2 separate regions of the Homo sapiens genome follow, and region 2 is linked to region 1. The links are contacts of gene promoters, found by promoter capture Hi-C in blood cells and fetal thymus (Javierre and others, 2016). All regions are on one chromosome and are shown on one strand. The core of a region is centred on a gene start or on the middle of the fragment in contact, and the rest is flanking DNA. Distances in the headings are between cores, read along the strand shown. Region 1 holds the start of ZC3H6 (zinc finger CCCH-type containing 6). Region 2 overlaps FBLN7 (fibulin 7).

What was found. The method cuts DNA at HindIII sites, captures the fragments that hold promoters and counts their contacts. A CHiCAGO score of 5 or more calls a contact.
Region 2: a contact is called between a fragment that was not itself captured here and the fragment with the promoter of ZC3H6 in region 1, in 1 of 17 cell types (non-activated CD4 T cells). The highest score is 5.9, in non-activated CD4 T cells.

The regions. Positions count from the first base shown.
Region 1 is chr2:112,274,347-112,278,764 of GRCh38, reverse strand. ZC3H6 (zinc finger CCCH-type containing 6) reads right to left here and starts at 3,168. Exons shown (of 12, transcript NM_198581.3): 1 at 2,739-3,168. The coding sequence starts at 2,770. RefSeq lists a silencer at 2,399-2,878 and enhancers at 3,069-3,278, 2,894-3,466. The HindIII fragment of the contact is 12,828 bases long and covers 1,519-4,418 here.
Region 2 is chr2:112,187,465-112,191,882 of GRCh38, reverse strand. FBLN7 (fibulin 7) reads right to left here. Exons shown (of 8, transcript NM_153214.3): 8 at 3,665-4,418. The coding sequence ends at 4,377. Among named protein-coding and RNA genes, the nearest start is that of FBLN7, 51 kb to the right of the region's middle. The HindIII fragment of the contact is 8,526 bases long and covers 1-4,418 here.

The DNA of each region.
Region 1 (4,418 bases), core at 1,919-4,418:
ACATTTAGAATCTCATTCTCATAAACAGTAATATTTTAATTTGTATAAAATCAAAGCAATTGTAAATATAAATCATAGGCTTCATTTTTTTTCCTGCATACACAATATGCCTTAATTTTTGAAAATGTTATAAAAAGAATATCCTTGGCTGGGCACAGTGGCTCACCCCTGTAATCCCAAAACTTTGGGAGGCCAAGGCTGGTGGATCACTTGAGGTCAGGAGTTCAAGACCAGCCTGTCCAACATGATGAAACGTGGTCTCTACTAAAAATACAAAAAATTAGCCAGGTGTGGTGGCGGGTGCCTGTAATCCCAGCTACTCAGGAGGCTGAGGCAGGAGAATGGTGTGAAGGCGGGAAGTGGAGCTTGCAGTGAGCTGAGACAGTGCCACTGCACTCCAGCCTGGGCGACAGAGCGAGACTCCGTCTCAAAAAAATAAAATAAATAAAATAAAATCCTTGAGACAAAGCCTAGCTCCATATACCAAGTTTCATATATTTTTCTCCACTTAATTCACAGAAACTTTTATAACAGCATAAAATAGCTATTATATGGAAAGATACAGTATTTTGGAAGCCCGCAGATTAGTCCATTTTTTCCCCAAATTTCTTAAGAATTTCCCAGGGAGCCTATGAAAAATACCCTAGAGATTCTGATTCAGTTGCTCTGGGCAGAACAAAAATTTATTCCCCAAAGTGATTCTGATGATTAACTATCATTGGGAAACACTGATCGAGTATAGCGGTTCTCAATTTGGCACATATTAGAATTTCCTGGGGAGCTTTTAGAACTCTTAAAACCCAGGCTGAGGTCCAGACCAACAGAAATAGCGCCAATACTTTAAAGAAAAAAAGTTCCCCAGGGAAGGTTTAGAACCATTGATCTGATCTTGTAGAATTTCTCCTGACTTCTAGTTCACTTTGTTTTTGATGTAGTTGTTTTGTTTTTCATGTGGGTTGACAAAAAAAGCATGAAAAAAAAAAACCATCTCCTTCATCTCAGCACAATGATGCCACTTAACAATTGGCTAAGTTAAAGTGGAGCTAACCTTTTTGTTTCAGAAATCACTAGAAAATACTTTTAGTCCGAATTTTAAATAAAATAGACTAATCTTAATCTTTAGCTCCTACTACCAACCTATTAACATATCTTACAAATAATTCTTTAAAGTTTTCTAACCTCTAAACCAGTATTTTAAAATTTCAAATTCTTTAAAAGGTCTGTCATCACAGTTCCTTACCAGCAAAATTATTTTGATACTTGAATTTGATGGCATTGTTTTTTCATGATGTACAATACATAACTCCATATATAGAAGTTACTTTGTGCACTAAGAGAGGGGAACAGATATTCTTCCATATTAAAAAAAAAAAGGATTTTAGGCTCCATTAGCAAAACCCCATCATTGGTTTGTCCATACCTCAAGAGCAAGGTATTAGTCAACCCATTCTAAGAATTTCCTTTTTAATACAAAAGATAACGTTAAAAAAATCATTAAAAATGTGCCAAGTGCAAGCTTATCATTTTTAAAAGTGCATTTTACTTTCCAAAAATTTTTACACTTTGATTGACGTGCCCTCTGGGAATCTACTTTTATTATTACAATACTGAAGTTGTTGAAATACCATTTTTATCCCTCTCAAGATTGCTAGGTATTTAGATATTTCAAATTTCAGCAGTGTTTGTGATTTTTGCTTCTGGGTTTTAAAAAACGTGTTTAGGATGCTTTACCAAGCCGATCACATTACTACAGATAAAACTTCAGCAATGTATATAGTCTATAGTAAAACGTATATTTTTTCTTACTTCTATTCACAAAGGAGTAATTGTGAGGTTCTAGATTTTCAAATTAATATTCTAAGTAAGAATCAGATGCAATGGATTTTGTTTCAGTAAGTTTAATGAATGAAAGCCCCCCTTTCGCATTATTAAAGATATATACGAATGAAAATTTGAATTATAACCAAAATTTAAGTATGCTACAGTATACTTTGTAAATGTCCCCAAACTCGAATGGAAACAAGAATGTGCCTCTTAAGGCACAGAGCAAAAAATAAAAAATCAGAATCTCAATATTCAAGTGATACACACCATCTAGAAAATTGGGCTAGCCGGAATAATCCATGGAGTTTTTACGTTAGGGTAAAACTGTGCTAAACTAAGTTTCTGCAAAGCCTAAGTATTTTGTGTTAACATATTAAACTTGAAACTTGCCATCTCAAATTCCAAGGGATAAGACTGTATACAACAGATGGCCTTTTGGTGCTGCTTAAAACTTCCCTGAAAACCAAATGTTTATTTTTTTAGAGGTGTTCTCGGTTCTCGGGAAGCAGTCAAATATCAAAACACCCATTCCTGAAAATTCCTGGCTGGTCCTATCTGGCCGGGAGCACCGACACCTGGACGGGCAGAAGCAGGACCTCAGCACCGAGCCGGGACGCTGAGAGCCGCCCGGCGCACACGGAGCCCGCCCGGGGGGCGGGGGGCTCGCACGTGCCCGGCCGGGGGCGGGGCCGGCGCTGGCGAGCAGCGACCCCGGCTCGGGGAGGCGGGCGCGGCCGGGCCGACCTCCCCCGCGGCCGCGATCCAGCAGTTTACATAAGAGTGCGCGTCATGGAACTGACGGAGCCACACAGAGACGTCTAGGTCATGCAGGAGGCGCCCGGCCCCGGCCCGCTCCCGCCGCCCCAGACCCCTCCTCTCATCCGACAGAAAGACAGACAAGAAGGGTTCCCGACCTGTCGTGCCCTGCATGTTCAGAGTCTGTCATGTTTGGTCAAGAACGGGGCGGGGCTGGAGGGCAGGTCTGCGAGGCCGGCGGCGGCGGGGCGCGGGGAAGACCCCCCGCGCCGCCTGCGGGAACCTGCTCCCGGCCGCCGCCGACAGGTGACGAAGTGGTAAAAACTCACGGTTACTAGTGAGCGACACAGACACAGACTTTCCAGTCTATTAACAACCACGCCAGAGAGATGGGGCTCTAACTGCAAACACTGGGCAACGGCCCCGCGCTGCCGGCGCTGCCGCTCTAGTCTCTATTCGCCGCCGGTGGCTGTGGCGTGGGAGCGGGCGGGCGGCGTGCAGCGACGCGGGGATTTGGACAGTGGCCGTAACGGTGATTTCTCCTCACCAACATGGCGGCACCCGAAACAGGCGGCTCGAGAAAATGGCGCCGGCCGCAACACCTTGCCCGGGACTAAAGGGCAAGAGAGATTCCTCCGCGAGCCGCGGCCCTTGCCCAGCCCGCCGGGGCCGAGCGCGTTGACCATTGGAGGAGAGTGCCCGTCAATCACCTGCAGGGGCGGGTCTTCGCCCTTCTCTGTGCAGCGGCGGAGGCGGCAGCCTAGTGGCGGGGCCGGGCGGCGAGAGACGCGGCCGGATGGCTCCTCGAGTGTCTGCAGGAGGGGGAGGCAGCCCACGGGACCTACGAGGGCCACCAGCGCTTCTGCTCCCGGCGCAGTACGGGCCGCGGTTTTTCCTGCGAGACGCCCGCCGCCCGAGGAGTTCCAGACGCACCAAGCAAACGGGCCCCAAAACCGTTAGCCGAGGCGGGCAGGGGTGGGATAACAAAGAACAAGGCGGCTGTAGAGTCCTTAAATTTTTTTGTGAAAACCTTTGTTCTTGTAATAATAGGGAAATGCAGTTTCTCCTTCACAGTTGTAGCAAGTATCTGTTTTTGTAACGTTTAGTGTTCAGAATCATGTTTTAAGGAAAATAGCTTGCCATGCAGTTTTTTCTTGTATTTGCTGTTAAATTTACCCAATTATTACTTAAATAGGAATAGCTATTGAAATAATTATATAAACGTTACTTTATTTCGTAATAATATTAACATGTAAAATGTATGCGAGTATTTTATAAATACTATTAGGCATGCCTTTTTTTTTTTTTTTTTTTTTTTTTTTTTTTTTTTTTTCTGAGATGGAGTCTCCTCTGTCGCCCAGGCTGGAGTGCAGTGTCGCGCTCTCGGCTCACTGCAACCTCTGCCTCCTGGGTTCAAGCAATTTTCCTGCCTCAGCCTCCCGAGTAGCTGGGACTGCAGGCACGCGCCACCACGCCTGGCTAATTTTTGTATTTTTAGTAGAGATGGGGTTTCCCCATTTTGGCCAGGCTGGTCTCGAACTCCTGACTTCAGGTGATCCGCCCTCCTGGGTCTCCCAAAGTGCTGGGGTTACAGCCGTGAGCCACCGCGCCCGACCATGCATGAGTTTTTTATACTTATGAAGTGACCTTAAAAAATTTTTAAATGACAAGTCAGTGTTTTGGCCTATTTAATATATTAGTCCTGAAGGAAAGTTCCTTGCTTTTTACTAAAATGATAGACTCAATGATTAATCCAAATATCTGACTTAATTTGTCTTTCCTTAATAATACATTTTACTAATACATAAATGGAATGCATTCAAAAACAATTGCAATGA
Region 2 (4,418 bases), core at 1,102-3,601, 86 kb after region 1:
CTGTAGATTTGACTTTGGAACCATGTAAATAGTTTACATAATTATAAAACAAAGTTAAAATTAAAAAGCAATCTCTAAAAATTTCAGGAAAATGAAGGAGGTATAATCAGTAAATCCTGATTCTAGTTTGGAGCATGCCACAGAGAGGGGAACCATTCCAAGTAACTTTACAACAGTAAGTTGACTGTCTGTCCCTAATCGCATAAATGCTGAGGACACAAAGAATTGAAGAAAAAAAATGATTTTAGCTGTTTTTAGTTATCACATTTGTGTGTTAAGGTTGGCATTGTTCTTATAAGAATTTTTTTTAATGTGTAGTTATTTTGGTGATGTTTAGAAGGAGGTTTTCAGAATGAGAGAAAGAGAGCAGATAGAGGATCAATGAAGCTATGTTAAAAATGAAAACAAGGCCAGGCGCGGTGGCTATGCCTGTAATCCCAGCACTTTGGGAGGCCGAGGCGGGCAGACCACTTGAGGACAGGAGTTTGAGACCAGCTTGGCCAACGTGGCAAAACCCTGTCTCTACTGAAAATACAAAAATTAGCTAGGTGTGGTGGTGCATGCCTGTAATCCCAGCTACTCAGGAGGCTGAGGCATGAGAATCACTTGAACCCAGGAGGTGGAGGTTGCAGTGAGCCAAGATTGCACCACTGCACTCCAGCCTGGGCAACAGAGCTGGACTCTGTCTCAAAAATAAAATAAAATAAAATAAAACGAAAACACTACAAAAAAATAAAAATTTGCTGGGCATAATGGCATGGACCTGTAGTCCCAGCTACTCAGAGGCTGAGGTGGAAGGATCGCTTGAGCCCAGGAATTTGAGGTTGCAGTGAGCTATGGTTGTACCATTGCAGTCTACTCTGAGTGACACAGAGAGACCCTGTCCCTATGCCAGTTCTCCCCTCTAACTAACAAAAAACCCACAGTAGTCCTGAATTAAATTGGAAGTATCAGCATGAACTCATGTAGTGTTTTATCTTAAAAAATACTAATAATACATATTTCCTAGCTCTAGCCACTAAAGCCAAGAAACTATGATGTAACCACTACCAATGAGCACTCTGAGCACTCAGACCTTGATGTCTAATTACCATCCCCCACTAGAAGGAACCAGGGATTACTGGGAGAAAACAGCTGATTTCAGGGCAGGGGCAGAAAATATACAGGATGAAAAAGACTACTAGGGTCATGTCAAAAGGAATCAGCCACCTCGAAGCAGCTCCCAAGAACCAAAGATAGAACAATTTGAGCAAAAACAAAGACAGTAGCTGTAATTACTATTAATACAGATGATAACACACATGATAACATCAGATATGTTTCAACCATGAGTTCATAATGTACTCAAAGAAGAAAACAACTCTCACAGGGCATGTTGGAAAGATGCCTGTGAACCATCTCATTTTGAAAACTGAAAAATAAAGGGAGGAAAGCCAAGAATCAATCCTACTTTTCTTATACAAACCAAATCTCAGGGTAACCAAATAACTGATGAGAGTGTGTTTCTCTTTATAAAGTATGTCAGCTAATAAACAAAGAAAAAATCAATAGCACTAGAATATTAATTGCAATCCCTACAGAAGTAATGGATCTGTGCAATCTGCGGGGGCTAACATCAGAAAAGAGAGGCAACCAGATATTTTGCTCCTCCTACTGGAAGCATCTGTCACCACCAATAAAGTAGTCTTGCCTAAATAAATCTAACTTGAATCTGACTAACTCTCTAGATTTATAAGAAATAGAGAAGACAGAGATGCACTCAGAAAAACTCATACTGTGAAAAATTCTACAATATAAATGACCCTATATTTTGTCTTCCAACAAACCTTCAGATTATTCCAATATATGCTGAAGTGTGAGACCCACTGCTACAGATTAAAAAAAGGCTTAAAATGCATATCAATAAATCACAGTGCATAGACCTACTGCAAGTAAACAAAAAAATATAAGCCACTCAGAGAAATGTCAACGATGGCTGAATATTTAAAGGTATTAAGGAATTAATGTTTTAGATGTGAATGGCATTTTGGTTATCCTTTTTTTAAAAGTTGTCTTTTAGAGATACATTCTAAAATATTTATAGATGAAATGATAGGATTGGGAATCATCATGAGGTGGGGTGATAGCAGATGAAACAAGTTGGCCATGTGTTCATTGTTGAAGCTACTGATTCAGACATGGGGTTCATTATACTATTCTTTCTACTTTTGCATATGTTTGCAACTTTGCATGATAAAAAGTCTTAAAGCCCCTCCCTCAAATAATATGAAACTATATTACCTGGAAAGGGGTGCAAATGAATTCTGGTTAACCAGTAGTTACTCTTAGTACAGAGTGGAGCTCTGAAAGGACAAAAGAAAAGTTGATTCCATAGAGGAGAGTGAGGAGAGAGCATATAGAGAACAAGACACTCCACAGGGAGAAGTGCCCAGCCATTATCCACAAAAGACCCATCATCCACATCATCCACAAGAAGTGCCCAGCCATCATTGTCCACAGCCATCATCCACATCCTAAGCAGTCAGCCATTTGTACTTTGGTGCTGTGGGCACCGGGGCTGGGTGCGTGATTTCATCAGTGGGAAGCAGGTTTGATGACGGCAGATCTTGGTGATGGAAATTGTTGCTTTAAACTGGGCTGTTTGGCATCAAAGCCCTATCATATACCAGTTTAGAGGGCACCTGCTCTGGAGACTCCCCAAACACTCCCCACCTTCTGGCATGTGAGAGGCTTGTCCCCCTGAACACATCATATCTCAATATATCCCACATATATCCCACATCATATGTCATCATATCTCACATATGATGTGTGTGATGTGTGGGCTGTCCCTAGCCCACAGCTGTGACATCTCCCATTCAGGAACCTGGCCAGGCCCTTAGACTCTTCCGCCTGGTGTTGTGCACATGGGACTGGGTGGTGTGCAGGCTTCTGGCCCAGCATAGCTACATTTAGAAACATAAGGCTGTGGATAATGTTTTAATGAAGTCTTGTAACTTTAGTTTGCATGTCCTTTTTCTGTTGTTAGAGATCGCAGCTGAGCCCATGGGAGAAGAAACATTTCAAAAGCAACTCTTGACTGTGTCTCAACCTTTGTCCAAACAACAGTACAAGAATAAACCATCTTAGAAACCATCTTGATGTAGGGCTTGATCATTGAACTAGTGACACACTTCTGGCTCCATCTCATACCAGGGCAAATACAAAGATTTAAATAAAATATGTGTGAGGAAATCTCACCAGCAGCTTGACATGTAATTAGATAATGAAACTTTCTTACAGCTTCGCTACCTCTTAAGTTTTAGCTTGAATGATCTTCCCCACCCTACCCCATACCCCATCCTACCACACCCCACTCAGCTCTGGCCAGTGTTTTCTCTCTTTGATCACCTGGAGGGCGTCACCCTGTAGTGAATTCATCAGAAACAAAAGGCCATGGAATCTATGACAACTCAAGCATTTTCCTAAACTCTCCACGGCCAGGTATTGTCCTTACCAATCTCCCATGTGGTCAAAACAAATTTATAATGTGGAACAGTCCCAAACATCACCTCTGTGTTCTCTGACTCATTTATTCCAGTGTATCCAACCCAGACAGGAAGAGAGTCAGCCACCCCCTCCTAGAAGGAAGTGGGCTGTCTCATGCTCAGGTAGAAGTCAGGCGGGCAGGAAGGAGCAATCACTTTTATTTTTTCAGTTATATTACCAGGTTATGTATTTGAGATATGATTTCTCAAAAGGGAAGTAACTCAGGCAGAATCCATGCTTTTAACAATGGGTCCTTGGTCTAGAAGGATCTGCGTGGGGTTTAAGGCCCTCCTGTGACTCTCTGATGAGAAGGCAGGCAGGCAGGCATGTCACAGAGGAAAAGGCAGATAAGAACAACGTGCTGGGTCATGGGAGGAGACTCCACTTCCTATGCCACATGCGCAGAGGCATGACTAGGGCCCCCCGCACGACTAGAACCGTTTCATTCATAGCAAGCCTGGCTACAAAAAGGCAGAAGGGCTGATAGTCACCTGACACACATTGCCACCTTTTCTCTCCCCAGCTAGTTCAAACTCACAAGGCCATTTGCACAGCATTTTGGAAAGCCACCCATCCCCTGGATGAAAAAGTTTTAAGAAAGTTAGTGCATAATCTAAGGGAAGGGCCTCAAAGCAGAAAAAAAAAAAGAGTGATGGCAGCAGTTGAGTTTTGTGGCTGCTCTTCCGTGCTATTCCATGGGGCGCCGTGCAACGCTGCCCTAGAAGCCTGGGTGCACTGGTGAGAGGGCGGGAACAGGCGGGAGGCTCCACGCAGTCGGTGCCCGAAGCTGAGCCTTCGGGGAAGAGAAATGAGGTCAGCTCTCCACACCCCAGTGCCCCTGTGTACCCTCAGAAGTCATAGGGGGATACAAAGATGGTGACCTTGGACAC